4 separate regions of the Homo sapiens genome follow, and regions 1, 2 and 3 are each linked to region 4. The links are contacts of gene promoters, found by promoter capture Hi-C in blood cells and fetal thymus (Javierre and others, 2016). All regions are on one chromosome and are shown on one strand. The core of a region is centred on a gene start or on the middle of the fragment in contact, and the rest is flanking DNA. Distances in the headings are between cores, read along the strand shown.

Region 1 (3,236 bases), core at 698-3,197, 1.6 Mb before region 4:
TACTTCTCTGTTGTTATGGTCTGAATGTGTCCCCTAAAATTTCTATGTTGAAACTTAATTATCAATGTGATAGTATTAAGAGGTGGAGCCTTTAGGAGAGAATTAAGTCATGAGGGCAGAGCCTTATAAAAGGGCGTGAGGGGGTGAGTCAGTTCCTACCATCTCTTCTACCATGTGAGTGAAACTGCCTTTGAAAAATTATAACAGTGAGAAAATTTTGACAGTGAAAGAGATCTGACCTAACCAACTCCATCTTGCTTCTCACTTCCAAGCTGCCCTTGTTTATTCCTGGGCATAGGCCAAACTAACTTTGGGAGGAATTTAGATTACAAACTTTGAAACAAAGATGATAAGAGCTCTTCCATGAAACAAATCCCCAGCTTTCCTGGGGACCAGACCACCTTTGTTAAACTAACAGATTAGGCAGGGCACAATGGCTCATGCCTGTAATCCCAGCACTTTGGGAGGCCAAAATGGGAGGATTGTGTAAGTCCAGGAGTTCGAGACCAGCCTGGGCAACATAGACCTTGTCTCTACAAAAAATGAACAAAATTAGCTGGGCATGGTGGCACTTGCCTGTAGTGCTTCGTGGGGAGCATCACTTGAGCCCAGGAGGTGTAGTTTGCAGTGAGCCAAGATCCTGCCACTGCATTTCTGCCTGTGTGACAGAGCGAGACCTTGTCTCAAAAAATAAGTAAACTAACAAATTAACTAGAAGATTAGAAATTATAGCTCAGGAGTCATGCAGCCAGAGTCCACAAGATCACCAACCTCCACAATTGCTCCTATAGATAACATTGCTATTATAAAACCTAACATTGGTGTTTGAGTTATTTTTCAAATCCTGAATTCCAGTGGACCAGCTGGAACCACACAGATAAGTAAAATGACTCATCTGGTCTTGTGGCCCCCTCCAGAAACTGACTCAGCATAAGATGACAGCTTCGACTCCCTATAATTTTATTCCTGACCCAACCAATCAGCATTCCCCATTCTATAGCCTGCTGTCTGCCAAACTATAAAAAAACCCTAGCCTCTGAATTTTCAGGAGGTTAATTTGAGTAGTAATAAAACTCATCTTCTGTTTAGCCAGCTCCACATGCACTAAACTCTTTGTCTTGATAAATTGGCTCTATCTGGTCAGCAGGCAAGAAAAACCTATTGGATGGTTACATGAGGACACAGCAAGAAAGCCCTTATGAGACACTGAGTTCCGGCATCTTGATCTTGAACTTCACAGCCTCTAGAACTGTAAGAAAACTAATTTCTGTCATTTATAAATTATCCAGACTGTATTTTGTTACAGCACCACTAACAGACTAAGACACACATGTAGATATAAAGTGTAATCATACTGTAAGCTTCTATAAAAAAATTTTTACATAGCAGACATGAGCCAGCCCCTGTAAATTCACTGAGAATTTGTGATCCATGTTGGACTGATGTGACTGAAAGGAATGGAAAAAGCAATACAAAACAAGCTAGACTGTGTCACCTTGTCCCCAGTACCCTCTGGCTTCATGAGGTTCAGAAGACAAAAGGAAAGAAAAGTCATATTTTTTCCCCCTGCTTCTTTTCTTCCAAGCTATAATTTGTGTTCCTCTAAGTGTGGCCATAGCTTCCTACCCTTGTCCAGTATCCATAGAGATAGTACTAATTTTTCTCTGTTGCTGATTGGGTGCTCACCAGCCCTGGAGGTTTAATTCTGCCCACACTCCTGTAAATAGTCCCTTCATTAATTAATTAATCAATTTCCCTTTTGAGTGTGCTATCATTTCCTGCCCTAGAACCCTTTTTGATATGCTGGAAAGATAATTTTCAAAAAAGGTAAAATAATGACTCTCATGCAGCTATAAAATGAACATGTGTCAAAAATTTTATTTAATACATTAATTAAATGAGGGAACCAGTAAAGATATTATAGCCAGTTCAAAGGAGAAGTGAAAAAACAGGAATTCAGAAAAATTTGCAAAGGCTGTAAAACTGGCTCTTTCCTTGGGAATCAGGGAGGGTTGCCCTTCTACCTGACAGAATTTATTTGCACATGTATAGGTAAGAATTATGTGCGTTGTTACCATTTATCTGCAATTTACAGAGTTGTAAAATAGCTCAAAGACAGTGAATTGGAATCAGATACCCTGAAAAGTTGTGCTCTAAACAATACGTAATATTCCACTGAAGCATAATTTTTCTCCATATACATTTGCCTTCTTTCTTTAAAGGGTACTTTGATTCAGGTAATTACTTGTGTAGTGATATGAGGGCATCCTATTCACCAGGATTTATTTAGCACAAACATAGTTTTTATCTGGAGTAAGTGCTTTGAAATGCTGATGGAGTGGAAGGAGAGATCTGTAGGGAAGGCTCAGAACAGCTTTACAGGAAGCAAGGAGAGGAATTCACTTTGTAGAGCAAAGGGGAAGGGGAGGAGGCAGAAGATTGCAAAGACTGTTCACAATGTGAGCACTCCTTATAACCCAAACCTTCAGTAAAGTTTGCAAAAAAAGAGAGATTATTGGATACTGAAGCTTTTATGTGTTGTGCTTTTGTGAAAATTGGAGGAAAGGATGAATTTTTTTTATGAGAGTTTGTGGCAATGGAGATAGACTTTGCACACAAAGAGTCTGAGTGGTGGTGGGGTGGGGGGTACTATAAATGAGACTATGAGCCTCAAGAATTTACAGACATGGACAGGGAGAACTCTAGACTTTCACAAACTGAGACTGGTAATGTTAAAAGATAAATTTGGGCACATTAAAAGTTTTAAAAATTTATTTGAACTGTTGATTTAAAAAAAAGACTCAAACTCTGTAAAATATTTTAAGAGATTTATTCCGAGCCAAATGTGAGTGACCAAGGCCTGAGGCACAGTCCCAAGAGGTCCTGAAAACATGTGCCCAAGGTGGTCGGGTCATAGCTTGATTGTGTACAGTTTTAGGGGAACAGAAGTTGCAGGCAGACATCACTCAGTACATGTAAAGCGTACACTGCTTTGGTCTGAAAAGGCAGGACAACTTTAAGACGTAATATAGGGGGATTGGGAAACTTGTGGCAGGAGGGGGCTTCCAGGTTATAGGGAGAGTCAAAGATTTTCTGACTGGCAATTGGTTGAAAGAGTTAAGTTACTATCTCAAGACCTAGGATCAATTGAAAGGAGTGTCTGGATTAAGACAAGGGGTTGTGGAGACCAAGATTCTTATTACACAGATAAAGGTCCCACATAGCAGGCTTCAGAG
Region 2 (3,388 bases), core at 745-3,244, 1.1 Mb before region 4:
TTTTTGTATTTTTAGTAGAGACAGGTTTCACCATGTTGGCCAGGCTGGTCTTGAACTCCTGGCCTCAAGTGATCTGCCCGCCTTGGCCTCCCAAAGTGCTGGGTAATATTACAGGCATTAGCCACCTTGCCAGGCCTGGCACCCAGATCTTGAGAGATGTAAATTGGCTGTCTTTTCACAAGGCTACACTCTCATGCTGATGTCCATTCCTTCATGCAACCAGTCCAAAATGCTCGCTACATCACCTTCCCCATACACATCTCTCCCCTCAAATCTTCCTGTGGCCCCTTTCTCATCTCCACTAACACTGAAATACTGAAGTCTATTCGATTACCAACCTTCTTCCTCTCTAAAAATATCTTCCTCTTCACTTCTTATTTTTTATTATTTTTATTTATTTTTTTTTTCTGAGACGGAGTCTCGCTCTGTCGCCCAGGCTAGAGTGTAGTGGTATGATCTCAGCTCACTGCAACCTCCACCTCCTGGGTTAAAGCAATTTTCCTACCTCAGTCTCCCGAGTAGCTGGGATTACAGGCATGCGCCACCACGCCCAGCTAATTGTGTATATTAGTAGAGACGGGGTTTCACCATGTTGGCCAGGCTGGTCTTGAACTTCTGACCTCAAGTGAGCCACCTGCCTCGGCCTCCCAAAGTGCTGGGTTTACAGGTGTGAGCCACCGTGCCCAGGCTCTCTTCACTTTTTGTACACACTCATCCTGCACTGTCTCTGCTGAACTTTACACACTGACTTCTATGGAGTGACCACGTCATGCAGTACCGAGAAATGAGTCTTAAAAAAAAAAATTAGAGTCATGTTCAAATGAGCAATCTGCCTCTTACCATTTATGCGACCTTAGTAATGTTACTTAACCTCTCTAGCCTTACTTTTCCCTTCTGCAAAGAGAAAATAATTCCTAACTCACTGGGTTTTTGTTTTTGTTTTTGAGACAGGGTCTGGCTCTATTGCCAAGTCTGGAGTTCAGTGGTACGATCACGGCTCACTGCAGCCTCTTGACCTCCCAGGCTCAAGCGATCCTACCACCTCAACCCCCAGAATAGCTGAGACTACAGGCATGTGTCACCACGCCCGACTAATTTTTAAAATTTTTTGTAGAGACGGGGTCTCATTCATTGAGTTTTAAAAGGAAGCAAGCATATGTAAGGCGCTTAACACAGTATCGTGTACTTAAAAGGCACTTAATAAACAGTAGCTGTTACTATGAAAATAATATTTACCTCACAAAACTGTTCCTACATGCCTGACGCTTAAGTAGCTCCTCAAAATATGATAGTTTTCCTCTTCCCCCGTCCTTGGAAAAACTTTCTAGTTCTTTCCAACAAAGATTCAGCACCTAGTTCAAATCCAACAAAGATTTCCCCAATTCTGCTGCAAAGGCATTTGTATATTTACTAAAATCTCAACACTCACGCAGGATAAAACCTACTTAGAACTACCCAGACATCCTTTCTTATCTTCTTAACTTTAAGTCACTGGAAGAAAACCATCACATTTTGCAAGTCCCCAAAAAGCATGCCTGCATAAAAGCTCTAGGGAAGGGAACCGGGTGTCCAGATGCATTTCAGAATTACCATAGGTTTCCTTGCTCGGCATACAGAATAAATGTTGGTTACACTAATGATACAACCGAAGTTGGGGAAAAAAACTTCAGACAATGGCCCGCAAATCTCAAGGAGTAATTGCGAAAAGATGCCACGTGGTGACGTGTTCTAGGCGGGTGATCAGTGAACAAATTTGTATGTGTGATCCTGTGGTGTGTGAATGTGTCATCGTGTGTGCCTGCGTGTGTTCGTAAACACTGAAAGTACAGTCGTGTGCGCCGAGAAGTCTGAGCGCGGGTGCGCATCCCTTTGGACCCGGGTGCGTACCTAGTGAGCAACCGTGCGAACCCTCACGGGGCTCTCCTCCACGCGCTTACCTCTGCGGACGAGCAGGTGGACGCCACTGGGCGCCGCCATGTTGGCGTCGGTCACGTGGCCGCGAGCACTCGCTCGCCGCCCCGCCCGCTGGAGCCGGCCAGTCGCAGCCCTGCCGAAGCCCTGAGGCGTCGAGGCCGCCCGAGGGGAGCGCGCGTGCGCGCGCGGGGCTGACTGCGGGAGCCCTGGCTGGGAAGCGGCTAGGGCACCCGGGCAAGCAGCAGAACCCGCGGCCGGCTGAGTCCTCTCCAGCCGCGAGAGGCGGGCTCCAGCCGCGGCTCGCGCGCTCGCTCTGAGCCCCCGCGCCCAGGTGGGATGGAAGAAGCCTGTCAGGTAAGCGTGGCATCCAATATTTATAGCATCAACATTTTGGTGCATGGAAACGTGAAGTTGGGCGGAAAAAATAAAGCACAATCTAGTGTTCAACATAGCACTTTGTATCGTCTGCCACTCTGTTGCAAATTATTCCCCTGGATTCAGTTGAAAGGTAAAATTTGGTTCAAAGTCACCAGCTCCCCTTTTGCTGTCCCAGAATCTACATTACTCAGCAGAGACTCCAGACAACACAGGATCTGTGTGTCGCTGCAAAATCTATTCTAGGTACCCCAGTGGGTATGTTCAGGAGACTTCTCTTTCTCCAAGGACGCCTTCTGCTTGGCAGTATTAACTGGAGTCTTAATCCTAAATTTGGAGTTTAAGTATAAAAGGATGACGCCTGCCAATTGCATTGCCAAGAGAAGAAGCCTACAGAAGGCCAATTGTGAATCAGATGAGGGAGCTGATGTATGCCTACTGATGACGGTGCCCATTTTTACCAAATTCACTGTCTCTCTTACCTGTGTTCTGGGGTAGATGCCATCCTGTCATGGACCAGGTGTTATTCATCTTAGTAGCCTCCGTGCCCGGCACAGAACCCGATACCCGAGGAATGTCAGGTGAAGCAATTGAACACTGCATGAAACCAGTCAAACTGAGAATGTAACCGTTTCCAGACTTTAAATGCAGTGAAGATTGATTAGGATTCTCAGTGAATGTGTGTGATGTCTTCTAATTAATTTTTAAGCACTACACACTCAGTGAATAATCTAGACAATTCAGAACAATTCAGAAATAAGGAACAAGTGCAAGCCCCTTCCTCGCCCTCTGTACATACCATAGTCCCACTCCCCAGTTAACCACCGTGTGCTCAATTGAGATCTTTGCCTTTTACACACAGGCAAATGTAAGTATTTTAAATAGAATCATATGACTTGCTTTTTCCATTCCAGTCATCATAGGCATCAAATCTTAGAACACTTAGTTCAGACTTATTCTTTTTAATGACTATATAATCTTGATATTTTTACTTTTAAAGAGAGTGAATGTTGGCATTTCATTAGAGGACACATGCTATAATTCTGGAAAACCTGGTTTTGGATGCTTTTGGGTCACCTTGAAAGATAAAGAGAAGTAA
Region 3 (3,073 bases), core at 253-2,752, 1.4 Mb after region 4:
CCCGCCCGGGAGGGAGGTGGGGGGGTCAGCCCCCCGCCCGGCCAGCCGCCCCGTCCGGGAGGGAGGTGGGGGCGGTCAGCTCCCCGCCCAGCCAGCCGCCCCGCCCGGGAGGGAGGTGGGGGCGGTCAGCCCCCCGCCCGGCCAGCCGACCTGCCCGGGAGGGAGGTGGGGGGGTCAGCCCCCCGCCCGGCCAGCCGCCCCGTCCGGGAGGGAGGTGGGGGGGTCAGCCCCCCGCCCCGCCAGCCGCCCTGTCCGGGAGGTGAGGGGCGCCTCTGCCCGGCCACCCCTACTGGGAAGTGAGGAGCCCCTCTGCCCGGCCACCACCCCGTCTGGGAGGTGTACCCAACAGCTCATTGAGAACGGGCCATGATGACAATGGCGGTTTTATGGAATAGAAAAGGGGGAAAGGTGGGGAAAAGATTGAGAAATCGGAAAGTTGCTGTGTCTGTGTAGAAAGAAGTAGACATGGGAGACTTTTCATTTTGTTCTGTACTAAGAAAAATTCTTATCCTGTTGATCTATGACCTTACCCCCAACCCTGTGCTCTCTGAAACATGTGCTGTGTCCACTCAGGGTTAAATGGATTAAGGGCGGTGCAAGATGTGCTTTGTTAAACAGATGGTTGAAGGCAGCATGCTCCTTAAGAGTCATCACCACTCCCTAATCTCAAGTACTCAGGGACACAAACACTGCAGAAGGCCGCAGGGTCCTCTGCCTAGGAAAACCAGAGACCTTTGTTCACTTGTTTATCTGCTGACCTTCCCTCCACTATTGTCCTACGACCCTGCCAAATCCCCCTCTGCGAGAAACACCCAAGAATGATCAATAAAAAAAATAAATAAATAAAATAAAAAAAAGAAAGTTGCACAGCATATTCCAACAAATATCAGTTTGGTACCTTTAGAGCCTTACTTTGTTGTAGTGATTATCAGCTGAAAATTATGTCTGTTGTAACTTTGGTAAGCATTCCACTTTGGTTATTTATTAGTGGTATTTTTTTTTTAAGTGTCAAGTGTCAAATCTTGGGACTATTAAAATACCATGGTAAGTAAAAAAAAAATATGGTCTGAGAACTGGTACCTATCCACGACATAAGTGCAGAAACTGAGAGTATGAGTTTGCATACTTTCAAAGTTACTCGACAGAGTTATTTCGTATATGCTAAAAAATAATAAGAAAAATCTGTACGTGTCTTTTCCATGTTTACATTTTTAAATTTCATTTTCCTAAGTATATTTTTGTGTATATTATAAAAGTAGTAGACTTCCAAGGACTAGGAGAACAACCTTAGATAGTAGAGAATCACCTAAACGACCTATATCTTCTTCAACAGCTTAAGCTGTGTACTGCGCTAGAGCCTCCCTCAATGAGGAACTACAATGCCCAGAATTCCCCCAAAATGCGTGAGCGACGTCCATTTCACCCACCTCGCCGCGACCCACCCTGGGATATGTAGTGCGTGACTTCCGCAGTGCACGCTGCGCCTGCCGGGCATTTTTTCCTGGTTTGGGGGCAAGGTCTCATGGGAAAGGTCATGTCTCTCGAAGAAAGGTTATAAACCCTGAGATATGAGGGTTGGGCGAGACATCCGAGCCTGTTTCGTTCCGTGTTGGGACCAGGAATAACCCTGACTTCTGAGCTTTCATAACCCCAGGATCCTCCAGAAAATTTGCGGCGCGCTGAGGGAAAACCTTGCTGGCAAGTCGGGACTGTGTGGCAGCGGCTATTTTTCTTTTCCCACCCAGCACGTTTTCGGGCTGGGGACATAGGGTTCAGTTGAGATACGGAGGCTTCCTTCGGGATATTGGGTTCTCTGAAGTGCGGATGGACTAGGGCAGGGCTGAGACCCCATTCATTCACTCATTTGTTTAGCTCTCCTTTATGCCCGGCGCAGAAGATACCCCTTAGGGTCCCAAGGCCCTTCCTGTAGTTAAGTTCCTTCCTTAAGGTCATTCAGCTGGGGCAAAGCTGGGGACTCGACACCTTTCTATGCTAACCATTGAGCTGCCTCCACTTTGAGCAGCTCAGTGGATGAATATAGTATCTTGAGGATACCTTTGATTTGTGCAGGGTTTTCTTGTGCAGGTTTGTGACCCAGGTCAGCTTAGGTCAGGATGCTGTACTGCTTGCCACAAAATAGCCTGTACTGTCGCGTCGTTTTTTCTTGTGAACAGACTGTTTGGCATAGCCGTAGAGAGGGGTCTGAGACATGAATTTAGTGATACAGCGTTGATTTGTTTGTGTAATGAAGCTGTTCAAGTGGAAAGAACTGAGTTGTAGTCCCTGCTTCACTAGTACTAGAAGGATTTTTTAAACCTTTTTGAACCTATTTTGCCTTATCTGTAAAATGGAAATAATATCAACCTGGAAGGTTAGCTGAGAGAATTTAATGAGATAATGTGTTTCAAACGTTCTTTGTAAATGGTAACATGTTGCAGAAATATTAGATTATATGACTTTAGTCCCTGCTTTTCTAACCATTACTTCTCAATTATAAATGTAAACATTTATAGCATATTTTTAAAACAAATTATTCTTTTTTCATAATTATCTTTAGTTCTTTTATTGTTTCAGCATGACTTGAAACATTACTTAATTTCTTAGTATTTCTTGATTGGTGCTTTAATTGTGTCGTTCATTGGTTAAAACCTATCCAAGGCCAGTAATGATTAAATTATATGACTTCTTTTATTTATTTATTTTCTAAAGAAAGGAATTATTTGAGCTCTTTAAGGGCACAAGAAAAAGGGGCAAGAAATTATCCTGAAAGCAAATAAACCTGAGACCATACTTCTGAAAAATTAAAAAAAAAAAGTATATATATATGTATGTATAAATATATATGGCTCTGAATTAATGCCTACACTTTTTAGAAACTTTGAAGGTGATTATTTATTTTAAACAATTTTCCTCTTTTTCGAAAAGACAGCTCTGAGTTTGTGGGCTTTTTTTTTCCTTTTATGGTAAATTTGAAAACTTTATGTAAATGTCAGATTTAAAACACTTTTAAAATGGGGTGCAGAAAGAAGCCCCTTTTTCTGGACATTTATTTTTTGATCAAATTCTGCTATCT
Region 4 (3,121 bases), core at 590-3,089:
ACTGCACTTACATAAAGAAAATACAAACTCATTTTATGTCGGAATGCAGTCACTAAGTTGGAATCCTTTTGATGTGTATGGCTTTCTTTCAAACACGCGACTTTTTTTTTTTTTTTTTGCTTATTAACACTAATGTGTTTTACTGAGTTTCCCTGAGTGCATGTATTATAAAAATATCATGAATCCCCAAGGATTCATGACCACAATCGGTCACTGTGAGAAACAGCTGGTAATACTGGGTAACATCCCAGGGTAGAGAACTCAAAATCAGACCAGATAATAGAAAGAAAAGCACAGCTTTCACCTCACATTTGGGAACTGACAATTCTCCTTCCATTTCCTCTCTCAGTGTGGCTCTTGGGTGTTTGGTTAGCAGAAGGGGATAGGAAGATAATACGGTTTATTTATAGGCTCCCTTTTCCTTTCGGGGAAAAAAAAAATCACCCTTTCCTACTAAGAGTATGGCAGAGGAGGGATTTTTAGTGTAATGGAAAGGCAATAGACACGATAATCCGGAAGATCAGAAAGATGATCTGTCTCAGCCCTATCACATAGACAGCTGGGCAATTTAAGAATGTGTCTCACCTAAAACATGGGACCCAGGGCAGGAAATGAAGGTAGCACCAGGAAGTGCACTCTCTTACTTTCAGTGAAAACGTTCTTGCCTGTGAGGAGCTAATATTGAGTGACACTCTATTACACCCCTAAATGGCGCTACACGCTGCGGCCACTCTGTTGACTGTTCATGTTAACACTCACACAGGTGTCACAGCAAACAACCATCAATGCTACTTCTAAAGTCGCCCGGTTCCATGAGGAAAAGACCACATGCTTTGTACCACCCAGGCCCAGGCCGTTCATAGGTAGGGGCTTAGCTGACGCCTTTTGAGATACTATGTTTCTCTGCGTCCTGGAAGTTAAGCTAGGGTTGTTTTCCTTTATATACTCCGATTTTTAAAAAAAATTTCTCTGCACTACCTCTTTACCACTGTGGATCTAAACCTTATAATCTAAACCACACCCTCAGCAATCGGAACAGAACGGAAGTTCCCACTCCAGGAAATCTTGAGAAGGTTTGGGAGGGTCAGGAGTGGCACGGGAAAGGAAAAGTCTGGTCAAAATCAAGTCTGTTTAAGTCCGTCGAACCTACTTCCAGGCCATTTGGTTTTCCGTCTCCTGCCCTGCTGGTCTTTCAGGCCACTCGGCCGGCGCCGAGGTGATTTAACACCTGCCGCCGCAGGCCCCGCCTCCGGACTGCGGGTCCGGATCCCTCTCCTAGGAAAGCGCAAAGGCTGCCTTCACAGTCACCACTTTGGAGACGTTGCCTCCGCGCCCTTCCTAACTTTGGAAGCTAAAAATGAGGGGGGGTGGAGGAGAGAGAAGGCCGTGCGGAAAAAGAGCAAGGTTGTCCCCCCTTCCCAGGGCCGCCCCCTGGCCGAGTCGCCGGCAGCCGCCTCCAGCTCCAGCCCGTCCTCCTACAGCCGCGGACCCCGTGCCCAGGGCGCTCCGCGGAGGTGGGATGCGAGCGGCCTCCGGAACCAGCCTCGACCAAGGCAGCGCCCGCGACCGCCGCTCCTTCGCGGGATCGGGCCTGGCTGCCCCGTGAAGGAGCCCATGGGGGCCTCCGCCTCCCCGCGGCCGGCCCCGCCTCCAGCCCGCAGCTCCCCGGCCGCCGTCGGAGCCCTTACCCGCAGAACGTGGTAGCCCTCGGTGCCCCCGCCCGGGATCTCGACGCTTTGCGAGGAGCCCATGGCGGCGGGCGATCGGTGTGGCCGAGCCGGGCTCCGCGCTGCTCCCGCCCCCAGCGCACCGCCTGCTCTAATCCTCCGCGTAGCACTTGGGACGTGGCACTCGCTGCCGCCGGAGAGCCGGGCCGCACAGCCCGCCGGGAGATCGTCTCTGCTGCAGCCCGGGCCGCTGCGACGCCGCAGACAGCGCCACCTGCCGCGAGCCACTGGAAGGGGCCCGAGCGCTCGCGGGCCGGGAGGGCGGAGAGGGAGGGCCGGAGGAGGACTGGGAGGCACCGCGTCGTGCTCGCGAGAGAACAGAAATGCGCTTCCCCCAGCTTTGGCGCCTTGCTACGGGGCCCTGGATTGGACTAGATTTATGCAGACGCGTTCCCGCTCGCCTGAAAGAACACATACTTGGTTGCAGGTCCCCCTGGTGGCCAGAGGCGGGGAAAGGGCTGCTGATGAACAGGAGCGAACTCAACACACACCAAGCTCTCTGTTCTCCGGGTGTGTAGGTATTTTCCCAAACTGTACAGCTGAGGGGAATAGTGGCCTCCTGTGGGCTGCCTAGCATCTGCTCAGCTAAATTTTATAAAAGGAAACGCTCCCTTTATAAAACAGTAGTCTCACAGAGTCACCTACCAACTTCTTTTTTGGTTTGGGTTTGTTTTTTTTTCTTCCTCCCTAATTGTGAGAATAAGATTAGAGGATTGGTCATAATCAGAGCGATGCCAGCGTGGGAAGCACGGTTGGATTTCCCTGGCATTCCACCACCTGCTGCTGCTCGGTTCCCCGTCCTACCTCCTTCAGGTAGCCAGGTCGTATTCATGCTTATTCCGTTGTCGTATTCCGTTGCTGCTTTTGCCCCTTACGTGTACTCCCTCTGAAACCCCTAGTTGCTTTGTGGTCAGTTGGACTGATGTTGCGTCAACCAGGTATTATGTGGATTCCTATGTGATGCAATGTAAAGTACGTGCTATCGCCCATGAAGTATTCTAGCCCAAGGTGGTTAACTTGCCTCTATGGCATCTTGAGTTTGATGTTTACAGGAAGTAAGGGGAATTGAGGAGCAAGTAAAATGACACCACAGGGAACCAGGCAAATACAGGAAGTGGGCCTTCCTTCAGGACAGCTGGCCAGTTCTCTTTGTCGAGTCAGAGTCCTATGAAAGGGCCTATGCCAGATTAAAAGGAACCCGAAGAATATAACCAAGAGACACATTGCAAGGGCTTGAGTTGGGGGCCAACTTGGAGAAATAAGCGTAAAGGACATTTTTGGTTCATTTGGAGAAATTTGAATATGTACTGAGTATTAGAAGAGTAGTTATTCACATGGAAACGTGGAAATTATTGTCTTTTTTAAAAGCTGGTTACAAGACGGGATGTGTCTGT

The links. The method cuts DNA at HindIII sites, captures the fragments that hold promoters and counts their contacts. A CHiCAGO score of 5 or more calls a contact.
Region 1: a fragment that was not itself captured here is called in contact with the fragment with the promoter of GORASP2 in region 4 in 1 of 17 cell types (total B cells); the score reaches 5.0 in total B cells.
Region 2: a contact is called between the fragment with the promoter of METAP1D here and the fragment with the promoter of GORASP2 in region 4, in 1 of 17 cell types (total B cells). The highest score is 10.5, in total B cells.
Region 3: a contact is called between the fragment with the promoter of FASTKD1 here and the fragment with the promoter of GORASP2 in region 4, in 4 of 17 cell types (naive CD4 T cells, monocytes, fetal thymus and 1 more). The highest score is 8.7, in naive CD4 T cells.

The regions. Positions count from the first base shown.
Region 1 is chr2:172,550,620-172,553,855 of GRCh38, reverse strand. All of the region lies in intron 1 of PDK1-AS1 (PDK1 and ITGA6 antisense RNA 1), which reads left to right. Among named protein-coding and RNA genes, the nearest start is that of PDK1, 3.9 kb to the left of the region's middle. RefSeq lists a silencer at 741-1,035 and an enhancer at 741-1,035. The HindIII fragment of the contact is 1,167 bases long and covers 1,364-2,530 here.
Region 2 is chr2:171,998,559-172,001,946 of GRCh38, reverse strand. It overlaps METAP1D (methionyl aminopeptidase type 1D, mitochondrial), which reads right to left and starts at 1,994. Exons shown (of 10, transcript NM_199227.3): 1 at 1,938-1,994. The coding sequence starts at 1,977. It overlaps LOC124905590 (a long non-coding RNA gene), which reads left to right and starts at 2,038. Exons shown (of 3, transcript XR_007087296.1): 1 at 2,038-2,268. RefSeq lists a silencer at 2,000-2,299. The HindIII fragment of the contact is 8,153 bases long and covers 1-3,388 here.
Region 3 is chr2:169,572,294-169,575,366 of GRCh38, reverse strand. FASTKD1 (FAST kinase domains 1) reads left to right here and starts at 1,502. Exons shown (of 15, transcript NM_024622.6): 1 at 1,502-1,698. RefSeq lists enhancers at 1,291-1,390, 1,293-1,895, 1,751-1,920. The HindIII fragment of the contact is 12,279 bases long and covers 1-3,073 here.
Region 4 is chr2:170,927,971-170,931,091 of GRCh38, reverse strand. It overlaps GORASP2 (golgi reassembly stacking protein 2), which reads right to left and starts at 1,839. Exons shown (of 10, transcript NM_015530.5): 1 at 1,689-1,839. The coding sequence starts at 1,751. RefSeq lists a silencer at 1,361-2,060. The HindIII fragment of the contact is 11,137 bases long and covers 1-3,121 here.